Linked DNA regions of Homo sapiens: regions 1, 2 and 4 are each linked to region 3. Evidence: promoter capture Hi-C in human tissues and cell types (Jung and others, 2019). All regions are on one chromosome and are shown on one strand. Each heading gives the region's core, a stretch centred on a gene start or on the middle of the fragment in contact. The rest is flanking DNA. Distances are from core to core; before and after follow the strand shown. Region 1 overlaps CSPP1 (centrosome and spindle pole associated protein 1). Region 2 overlaps COPS5 (COP9 signalosome subunit 5). Region 3 holds the start of SGK3 (serum/glucocorticoid regulated kinase family member 3). Region 4 overlaps CSPP1 (centrosome and spindle pole associated protein 1).

Region 1 (2,718 bases), core at 25-2,524, 360 kb before region 3:
CACTTAAGCCTGGACAGTGGAGGTTGCAGTGAGCCAAGATTATGCCACTGCACTCCAGCCTGGGCGACAAAGTAAGATCCTGTCTCAAAAAAAAAAGATGTTAAGGAGAAAAAGAAATTAATATTTATTGTGTACCAATTACGTGCCAGCCATCTTTTCACGTATTTAACTTTCGCCCATAACGACTTTTTGAGATAGATGTCATAAGATAAGGAAACAAAGTGTAGCTCCTGACAGGTCATAAAGGCATCACAGCCCAATCCAAAGCAAGCTGTAACCCTAGAATTTAAAAGGGATTCTGTCTAACCTTAGCGACCTTAGTGCTTGAGATAACCTACTATTAAACTTTTTAAAAATTATCTCTTGGAATAATTAAAATTTAGATTCATAAAAACGTAGGGCTGGAAGATAATCAAACTTATTTCACAGAAAAAAAATTGAGAGCCTTAGAGATTAAAAAATTTTACCAATATATAATACTTTAGTTCACTAATGCTGTATATTAATAATTTATAAGAGATTCAAAATGGAAAGAGTTATCTATCTGATATTAAAAGTAGGGCACTCACTTTGAGCTATTTGTCTAATGCAGAGACAAAGCTTACTGACTATCCAGTTTCTTGGCCGGCATCCCCTTGTATCCACTGGCACACAAAAACAATTTAGGAGTATACCTACATCCATGAAAAGCTGTCCATTTGAGAACAATGCTTTAATCAAATGAACTTATCATAGTTGATTTTCTTTTTGTGAAAAAGTTTGTCATCATCAATAAATCACAAAATGCACATTGAAAATATTCATACAGGTCGGGCACAGTGGCTCACGCCTGTAACCCCAGCTTTGGGAGGCCGAGGCGGGCAGGCAGATCACCTGAGGTCAGGAGTTCGAGACCAGCCTGGCCAACACTGCGAAACCCTGTCTCTACCAAAAATATAAACAATTAGCTGAGTGTGGTGGCATGCGCCTGTAATCCCAGCTACTTGAGAGACTGAGACAGGAGAATCGCCTGAACCTGGGAGGTGGAGGCGGCAGTGAGCCGAGATCGTGCCACTGCACTCCAGCCTGGGCGACAGGGTCAGACTCAGCCTTGAAGAAAAAAAAAAAAAATTATATATATTCATACAGACTGGGCATGGTGGCTCAGGCCTGTAATTGTAGTACTTTGGGAGGCCAAGGCAGGAGGATTGCTTGAACCCAGGAGTTCAAGATAACACTGAACTATGATCATGCCACTGCACTCCAGCCTGAGTGACAGAGAGAGAGAGAGAGAGACCCTGTCTTTAATAAATAAACAAAAATTTTTACATATTCATACATTTTCTTTTTTTAAAATGTATACCTACCAACAAGCCAAAATGTGGTAAAAAGTTTCCAAATATTTTCATACCATACCATAATCAAAGCATTAGTATGGCTACAGTATTAACTTCTTTACAATTCCAACATGATCATCAATAATTAAAATAGTCTTTCACCAAACAGCATTTTGTACCCTTTAAGCATATTTCTTTAATTTTTAAATAAGCAAGTTCACCATTTTCAATCAACAAATAAAAGTTTCTCTTCTCTCTCTCTCTCACACACACAAATTCCTTTCAAAGTTTTCAATTTTTAAGTTATGTTATACACACCTTCTTCTATAAGTTCCATAAATCATAACCAATGCAGTATCACATAAAACAAGTACAAAGTTTTCAGTATGAGTTCTATTTCATATGTAGACCATATTGACTTACGTAAGATTCCAGAAAGAAAAACTACTAGGATTCCAAATAAATCTTTTTTTCTGACAAGACAAACCTCTTTCAGAAGAGCCCACTAAGGATATCTTAAAATAAGTTTAGCACATCTAATGACATACCTAAGGAACCCCTGGTCTGTTGACTATTTGGTGGTATGTTTTCCTTAGCCATAGAGATCAGTATCTTACTGTTTTCAGAAAGCTTCGCTGACAACTTTCCCTGAAAGAGACATAATGTTTACAAAAGCAAGAGGAAAAAAAAAACCATGAAATATACAACTCATCTCAAATTTTAATTAAACAGCTTGATGAAATTACACAGTACATCATAGAAGAAATTAAGTGTAAGGTTTGAGGAATTAGCCAAAGGTATTTTAATTTTATAATAGATATTCTAATATTTAACTCATTCACTTACCAACAAATATTTACTGAGTTCCCATTAAGTGCCAAACATTTTGTCAAGCATTGAAAGTATAAGAGTTTTAAAAAATAGAAGAATTTCTGCCATCATGAAGCTTATAAACTATTGGGGGGACACATAATGAACTCAACACATGATTAGATTATGTGATATGTAGATAGTGGCAGGAAGTGGTTATGGAAAAAAAAAAAAGCAGATTAAAGTAAGGAGGCCCAGAAATGCTGGGGGACTATAAGGCCTCACTGAGCAGGTGATACTTGAACTAAGACTTAAAATTATTTATGTACAAATTAATGTTAGAAATTATAACAAAACTGTCTTTAAAGCTATGTACTCCAAATCATGTAACTCCAAAGCCGTAAGCTGGTCCTAACTACTGGAGAGTGGTTAAGAGATAGACTCTGGAGCTGCATAAAGGTTCCACTCCTGAATCCACCACTGTGTGGACCTGGACAAATTACTTAACTCCTGTGAGCTTCACTTTCTTAATCCATAAAACAAAAAAAATTCACCTGCTTAACAGGGATATTATGATTAAATAAAATGATAC
Region 2 (2,700 bases), core at 135-2,634, 340 kb before region 3:
AACTGTAACCAAAGGAGGCATTACGCTTCCAGAAAAATCTCAAGGTAAAGCATTGCAAGCAACAGTAGTTGTTGGATTGAGCTTTCAAGGAAAAGGTGGATTCAACCAGTTAATGTGAAAGTTAGAGATAAAGAATTATTCTCCCAGAATATGGAGGCACAAAAGTAAAGAACTACTTTGCAACTCTTCAGGTTTATTCAGTTGACCTGGAAGGCCAAGGATTTTTTTTTTTTCTTTTTCTTTTCGAGACAGGGTCTCTGTCTCTGTTGTCCAGGGTATTGTGGTGGCACGATCTCAGCTCACTGCAGCCTCAACTTCCCAGGCTTGAGCGATCCTTCTGCCTCAGCCTCCCAAGTAGCTGGGACTACAAGGGTGAGCCACCACACCTGGCTAATTTTTGTATCTTTTTGTGGAGACAGGGTTTTGCCACGTTGCCCAAGCTGGCGTTGAACTCCTGGGTTTGAGCAATCTGCCCGCCTTGGCCTCCCAAAGTGCCATTACAGGCCGTGAGCCACCATGCCCAGCCAGATTATTTCTTATTTAGAGATGCTGACATTCTTAGAAAGTATGTAGACTGAAGTAAATCACTATTGAAATGCCATCAACATGAAGCTGCTCATTGCACTTAAGTTCTGAAATATTTAATTATGTAAATAATTGCCATGTCTCTTCTATAATAAACAAATGATATCTATACTAAAAAATAAAACTGACTTTGAAAACAACTCTGCCACTTTACTAGTTCTGAATGACTTTCAGAAAGTTATTTAATGTGACTAAGCATTTCTTTGTTGTAAAATGTTGATATGCTACATACATCATTAAGTACTCTGAGAAAATTAAATGGGCTACTTTATATAAAGCAATTAGCAAAGTGTCTGGCATATAATAAAGCCTCAATTAATGATTTTTTTTAATTTGGTGCATTATATTCATGGGAAAAGACCTCACTTAAGCCTATTATTTACTGGAATTTTTTTTTTTTTTTTTTTTGAGATGGAGTCTCACTCTGTCACCCCGGCTGGAGTGCAGTGGTGCAATCTCAGCTCACTGCAACCTCCACCCCTCCAGGTTTAAGCAGTTATCTGCCTCAGCCTCCGGAGTAGCTGGGATTACAGGTGCGTGCCACCACGCCCGGCTAATTTTTTGTATTTTTAGTAGAGATGGGGTTTCACCATCTTGGCCAGGCTGGTCTTGAACTCCTGACCTCGTGATCCACCCGCCTCAGCCTCCCAAAGTGCTGGGATTACAGGCGTGAGCCACCGCGCCCGGCTGGAATTTTTTTTAGGCTAGTCAAGTGAAGCAGTGTATTTACTGTTATTTTAAATACAACTCTGACAAGCTTTCTGTTCTTTTTTTCCTTTTTTCCTTTTATTTTATTTTATATTTTATTTTATTATTTTATTTTACTTTATTTATTTTATTATTTTATTTTATTTTGAGACAGGGTCTCACTCTGTTGCCCAGGCTGAAGTGCAGTGGTGCAATCACATCTCACTATAGCCTGGACCTCCTGGACTCAGGTGATTTTCCCACCTCGGCCTCCTGACTACAGGATGTACACCACCATGCCTGACTAATTTTTTATATTTTTTCATAGAGACAGGGTTTTGCCATGTTGTCCAGGCTGGTCTGGAGCTTCTGGGCACAAGCCTTCTGCCCACCTTGGCCTCCCAAAGTGCTGGGATTACAGGCATGAGCCACGGCGCCCAGTATCTGTTCTTATTTCTTATCCTTAGTAGTCAGAAGTAGCAAATTAGGATGGAGAATGATCATAATAGCAAATATGTGTTACATGCTTCCTATGTGCCAGAAACTGCTAAGTGTTTTATATGTGTTGTTTCCTTAGAGGCAAGTATATTAATAGCAGCCAGAAGTGACACCTGATGGCAAGGGGAGAAAACACTGTTAAGACCAGAACAGTCTGAACCTTTGTATGAGGCAAGCAGATCTACCTACTCAGCCCAATGTCTGTCCCTGTATTCCAGCACTGCATACATGAGGACATTAATAATCAAGAAAAGGTTAAATTACATTTCTCCCTTGTTGTTTTATGTATAGTACATTGCAGCATTTTAAGAACAAATATGTAGATATATGTTCAACTTCTCTCTTCCCCCAGCTAAGGACGTTAATTATAGCATGTAACCTAAGTTATTTTCAAATTTAAGAAATTAGTTTAGTATATTCATTTTCTGCACATTTGAAATGTAATTGGATATCTTTTATTGTCATTTTAATAGTATAACTATTTCTGGTAGCCTATATTTTTATGGCTTAAATAGCTCTATAAACTTTAGGGTTTTTTCCAAGTCTGTGGGAGGAAAATACATTGGCTTCCTAAACCATTTAGATCCAGACCAAATGAATATAATTGCATCTTTTAAAAAATATTAAGTTTGTAAAAATCATTGGAAGAACTGGTAGCATTTTAAAGAGCCCCCTATAGTAAGCTGTGATGGCAGCAAATAACTTTTCTTGTTTGGTGACTGACTGTCTTTCCTTGCAAACTGAGCAAATAGAACGACATACTACTTTTTGCCAACTAGTTTATTTCCTCTTCATACTCTTCTATTGAAGATCTAGGAAAGAAATATAATGTATACTTAATAACTTTGTGAAATTTTTTTTGTGTTTTAGACTGCAATTAAAAAGTGATACCCCATAAAAATATTGGTAAAATATGTAATATTATAGTTT
Region 3 (2,700 bases), core at 154-2,653:
ACCCTCATATCTAAACTATGTCATATAAATAATGTCATATAAACAGTGTCGAACAGATCAGGAACAAAGCTCTTTTCAAAAACAAAAGTAGGCTCCATGCAGTGGCAGTTAAAGAAGGGGAAGTTCTGGTGTCTCCAGAGTTAGCCGATGGGCACAACGGCAGTTGAAAGAGACCATGTTACACAAGTCATTCAGGTTCTGGCCAACATCTGCTTTGAACAGGTCGCATTCCCAGGAGCTCCAGGCTCCCTTACCCCAGGGAAATGCTGGGGTGGTGGCTTGTCTTACAGAAGTGGTAGCCAAGGGGACCAGAAGGCACACCCGGTGCTAAAACATGCCTAAAACTTCCTCTAATGTTTACAGCTCTTCCAATGACATTTGGGGAACTAAAGTATGGATAGCCTCTTCATTGCTAGAACCGCTATAATATGATAAGTTAAGAATTTGATTTAATATTTATAAAGAACTTAGAAAGAGCCCAGCGCATAGTAAGGGCTATGTAAGTGTTTGGTAAATAAAAAAAGGCACCTCCCAGATTGGCTGGGTGAAGTCTCAATCTGGTGAGAAGGGAGAGAATCAAAATACACAACAGTCTATTTTTCACTTTGACAAAAGATTTAGAAATTACAGTGCTCTGTATTTATTTTGCACCCAAGTGCACACTAAGTAGTCTCTGGTGCAGGACTGAAATTCTACTCATGGTTCAGAAGTCACTGTGCACAACTCAATGAAAGCGTTTTAAGTTTCAAGAGATGATTCCTTTCTCTTTTCTCTTTCCAAGTAACGATGACTAAAAATGACAGAATCTAAAAATCTCAAAGCACTTCTTGTGGGTACATTCCAAAGCTAAAACTGTGAGAATTAATAGGGCCAGATTCACTTGAAGAGACGTAAGGGTTCAAATTACAGAGAACTTAAAAGACGCAACGTATTAAGGTCTTTTACTACAGATCCGCTGACAACAGGTTAAACGATTCCATCCACCCCACTCTGGCGGCTGCCCCCTCCCCGACCCTCGCAGGTGACCTGCACCCACTTTCGACCTCAGATAGGGTCTCCCTGCTCGGCGTTCCCAGTTCCTCCAGGCTCGGCGGCTGCGTGGGGGTTAACAAGGTCCAGCCACCGACGCCCCTTGGGCGTTTAGGAATCTCGAGGCAGGATCTGAATTCACCTCGTGGAAACAAAGACCACAAACTCTCCGGGAGCCGGGGGCTGGGCGGAGGTACGGCTTTTTCCGAGGACAGGCAGCGGCCGAGGCCCGGGCAGCCCTCGCCCCGCCCCGTCTCCTCCCGCCCCGGGCCGCCGTCGGAGTCCCGGGCGCGCGGACCCTCCCGCCGGCCCCGCACCTACCTGGCCCCGCGGTGCTGCTCCCGGCGCGGCGGGCGCGGAGCCGAACGCACTGCGCTTCCTCCTTCCCGGCAGGGCCGCCGGGCGCCGGCGTTTCCTCCTTGACGCGTCACGGCCGCTGGCGGCTCCTCCCGCGGAGCGCGCGGGAGGCCGAGGACAGCCGGGGAAGGCGCCGGATCCCAGCAGAGCGGCGCGAGCGGCGGGCCGGGGGCAGCCCGTGCGGGGAGGGGCTGCAGGCTGCGTCCCGCTCAGGCCTCCGAGGAAACCCGCGCTCCTCTCTCTTCCCCGAGGACCCCCGCGAAAGGCCGGGCCACGGTGCACCGTCTGCCCCCGTCACGCGCTGTGCAAAGTTCAAGAGGACACAGTGGGTCCTGTCTGGAGTCACAGACTCTGGTGTTTCCCTCTGCTCCGCCCGCAGTGGCCGCTACCCTGGGGCCCAAGACCGGCGCGGGCCAGAGCGCCGGGGCCCAACAGAGATGACCTGGTGTGTGCAGGGATCAGGACCCCCCGGGTGGGCCCGTGGTGTTGGGGGGGTTGGCTTGGTGTAAACTGGAAACTCAGAGGAGTGAATTAAATATCCAAATAATTGAGAACAACTGTGATTCATTTAGCATTATTTGGACAGTTTTCCACTTTTGTCATTAGCAGAGTTACGGCCCTTGTGTTTATAAACAGTCGAGAACTTTCACAAATTGGCAGATCCTGTGTGCAGAGAAATTTCCTTTCCACACATCTTTTTAGATCTACTGACTCTTTTTTTTATTCCCATTAATCTCCAAGTCAGCTGAGTGCACACTTTACAGCTCCTTATTACTCATTCTTGAATTACAGAAGCTGCGTTTTAGATCTGTTTATCTCTTTTAACAGATAGAGAAGCTGAGTGGAGAACTAAGAATTACATGGTTCAATGGATGTGGAGTCAAGTGGTTAAGATTTTGAAGTAGAGTGGGTTGTTTTCTTCGTCCCACAACACTACTGTAATTTAGGTCTTATCAGATATCACTTGAAGATAGACTCAGACAAGTACTTAAAGATTCCCATGTGCATATCATGCCTTAGATTTTGAGACAATGATTTGTACTTTAGATCATATGATTCCAGAGAATTTGCCACAAATCTATGAACAAATAAACTGCCAAAGGTTATTAGAGGAACTGGGATCTATGTGTGACTTCCCTAAATTCAGAAGACATTTCCTCATGTTTTAAAATGATATTCAAAGATTTAGCCCCACAAGTATGGGTTAGGACATTCATTTTTAATGTCAATAACCACAATGTGGCCTCTCTTTAAAAAGTGGATTGTGAATCCAAATACTTTTTGTACTTCAGTAATCCTACAGAACTTTCTAAA
Region 4 (2,738 bases), core at 71-2,570, 410 kb before region 3:
TGTAATCCCAGCACTTTGGGAGGCCAAGGCGGGTGGATCATGAGGTCAGGAGATCGAGACCATCCTGGCTAACGCGGTGAAACCCCGTCTCTACTAAAAATACAAAAAATTAGCCAGGCGTGGTGGCGGGCGCCTGTAGTCCCAGCTACTCGGGAGGCTGAGGCAGGAGAATGACATGAACCCAGAAGGTGGGGCTTGCAATGAGCCGAGATCGCACCACTGCACTCCAGCCTGGGCAACAGCGAGACTGCGTCTTAAAAAAAAAAAAAAGAGCCTGGCCGCGGTGGCTCATGCCCGTAATCCCAGCACTTTGTGGGGCTGGGATCACTTGAGCCAGAAGTTTGAGACCAGCCTGGGAAACATGGCAAAACCCTATCTCTACAAAAAATACAAATATTTAGCCAGGCGTGGTGGCATGTGCCTGTAGTTCCAGCTCCTTGAGAGATTGGAGTGGAAGGATTGCTTGAGCCCAGGAGTTTGAGGCTGCAGTGAGCTCTGTGATCACACCACTGCACTCCAGCTTGGGAAAGAGAATGAGACCCTATCTCTTAAAAAAAAAAAAAAACGAAGAAGAAAAAGAAGGTAATAAAGGAGGATTAGAGGAATAAAAAGACATAAGACATATAGAAAAAAATTGCAAAATGGCAAACATAAAAACCAGGAAGTAACTGCATTCTGTCTACATAGAGACATCTTTTAGATTCAAAGACAAATAAATTGAGAGTAAATACGAAAAATCATACACCATGCAAACAGTACTAAAAGAGAACCAGAACAGCAACATTTATATTAGAACTAAAAGCACTTTATGACAAAAATTGTTAGCAGAGACACAGAAGAATCTCTGACACTAATAAAAGGGTCAAATCTTCAGTAAGACACAATTATAAACATATGCATATAAAGAGAGACCTAAGAAACGAAACAAAAACTGACAGAATTGAAGAGAATAATACACAAGTCAAGAATAATAGTTGGAGTCCGGGTGTGGTGGCTCATGGCTATATTCCTCGTACTTTGGGAGGCTGAGGCAAGAGGATCGCTTGAGGCCAGGAGTTCAAGATCACACTGGGCAACACAGGGAGACCCTGTTTCCACAAAAAATAAACAAATCAGTCAGGTGCAGTGGCACACGGCTGTAGTCCTAGCTGCTCAGGAGGCTGGGGTAGGAGGATTGCTTGAGCCCAGGAGGTTGAGGCTACAGCAAACTATGGTCTCACAACTGTATTCCAGCTTGGGTGACAGAGCAAGACTGTATATCAGAACACACACACACACAAACACACACACACACACACACAGAGCAAGACTGTATATCAGAACACACACACACAAAGTAACAGTTGGAGATTAAATACTTCACTTCTAATAATAGAACAACTACACAGAAGATCAAGGAAATAAAAGAAATAACACTATAAGCCAACTAGATCTAAGAGACACTTATAGAATAATACACTCACCAACAGGACAATACACATTCTTCTCAAATGCATGTGGAACATTCTCTAGGACAGACCATGTTAGGTCTTAAAATAAGCCTCAATAAATTAAAAAGGACTGACTGAAATCATACAAAGTTTGTTCTCCTACTGCAATGTAATTATATTAGACATGAGTAACAGAAGGATATTTGGGAAATTCACAATTATGTGGAAAGTAAACAACACATTTCAAAATAACCAACAGGTTGATGAAGAAATTTTTAAAAATTGGAAAATATTTTGAGAGCAATGAAAGTGAAAAGACAACATACCAAAACTTAAGGGATGTAGCTAAAACAGTACTAAGAGGAAAGCTTATAGTTGTAAGTATACATACCAAACAAAGGGAAAGATACCAAATCAATAATCTAGATTTTCATCTCTAGAAACCAGAAAAATGAGAGCAAACGGAACCCAAAGTAAGCAGAAGGGAGGAAATTTAAAAGATTACAGCAGAAATCAATGAAATGGAAACTAGAATAACGACAGAAAAAAAAAAAATCAACCAAACCAATAGTTTGTTATTTGAAAAGATCAACAAGATTGACAAATGCTTAGCTACACTGACCAACAAGAAGGCTCTGAATCTTCTATTAAAATCAGGAATTCTGTGATGGGAAGAATGAGGTCAGAAAAATAAATAAATAAATAAATAATAAAATATAATCAGAAATTCACAAAGGGGCATCACTATTAATCTTTTAAAAATAAGAAAGGACTGTAAGGGAATATTATCAACAATTATATGCCAACAAATCGGATAACCTAGATGAGATGGACAAATTCCTAGAAATAAAAACCTATCAAGACTAAATCATGAAGAAAAAGAAAATCTGAATAGACCTATATAACTAGTTACTAAAGAGACTGAATCTCTAATCAATAATCACCCAACAAAGAAAAGCCCTGTACCTTATGGTTTCACTGGTGAATTCTATCAAACATTTAAAGAAGAACTAATATAAATCCTCAAACTTTTTCAAAAAGTTCAAGAGGAGGGAACACTTCCTAATTCCTTCTATAAGCCCAACATTATGCTTATACCAAAGCTAGACAGTATAAGGAAACTACAACAAGATCACATATGAACACTGATGCAAAACTCCTTAACAAAATACTAGCAAACCAAATCCAGCAGCATATTAAAATGATTATACACCATGACTAAGTGGAATTTATTCCTGGAAAACAAGGATGGTTATGGTTAAACATAAAAAAATCAATCAATATACCACATTAAAAGAATAAAGGGGA

Evidence for each region. The method cuts DNA at HindIII sites, captures the fragments that hold promoters and counts their contacts. A contact is called where the count stands out against the background at its distance.
Region 1: a fragment that was not itself captured here is called in contact with the fragment with the promoter of SGK3 in region 3 in 1 of the 25 tissues and cell types used here (dorsolateral prefrontal cortex).
Region 2: a contact is called between a fragment that was not itself captured here and the fragment with the promoter of SGK3 in region 3, in 1 of the 25 tissues and cell types used here (dorsolateral prefrontal cortex).
Region 4: a contact is called between a fragment that was not itself captured here and the fragment with the promoter of SGK3 in region 3, in 2 of the 25 tissues and cell types used here (bladder and thymus).

The regions. Positions count from the first base shown.
Region 1 is chr8:67,075,728-67,078,445 of GRCh38, reverse strand. CSPP1 (centrosome and spindle pole associated protein 1) reads right to left here. Exons shown (of 31, transcript NM_001382391.1): 3 at 1,865-1,964. Among named protein-coding and RNA genes, the nearest start is that of CSPP1, 13 kb to the right of the region's middle. The HindIII fragment of the contact is 3,037 bases long and covers 1-2,718 here.
Region 2 is chr8:67,047,009-67,049,708 of GRCh38, reverse strand. The region is part of intron 6 of COPS5 (COP9 signalosome subunit 5); the gene reads left to right. Among named protein-coding and RNA genes, the nearest start is that of COPS5, 14 kb to the left of the region's middle. The HindIII fragment of the contact is 4,996 bases long and covers 1-2,700 here.
Region 3 is chr8:66,711,484-66,714,183 of GRCh38, reverse strand. It overlaps SGK3 (serum/glucocorticoid regulated kinase family member 3), which reads right to left and starts at 1,403. Exons shown (of 17, transcript NM_001033578.3): 1 at 1,351-1,403. The region is part of intron 3 of C8orf44-SGK3 (C8orf44-SGK3 readthrough); the gene reads right to left. RefSeq lists a silencer at 1,225-1,694. The HindIII fragment of the contact is 13,282 bases long and covers 1-2,700 here.
Region 4 is chr8:67,121,438-67,124,175 of GRCh38, reverse strand. The region is part of intron 15 of CSPP1 (centrosome and spindle pole associated protein 1); the gene reads right to left. Among named protein-coding and RNA genes, the nearest start is that of CSPP1, 58 kb to the right of the region's middle. The HindIII fragment of the contact is 4,479 bases long and covers 1-2,738 here.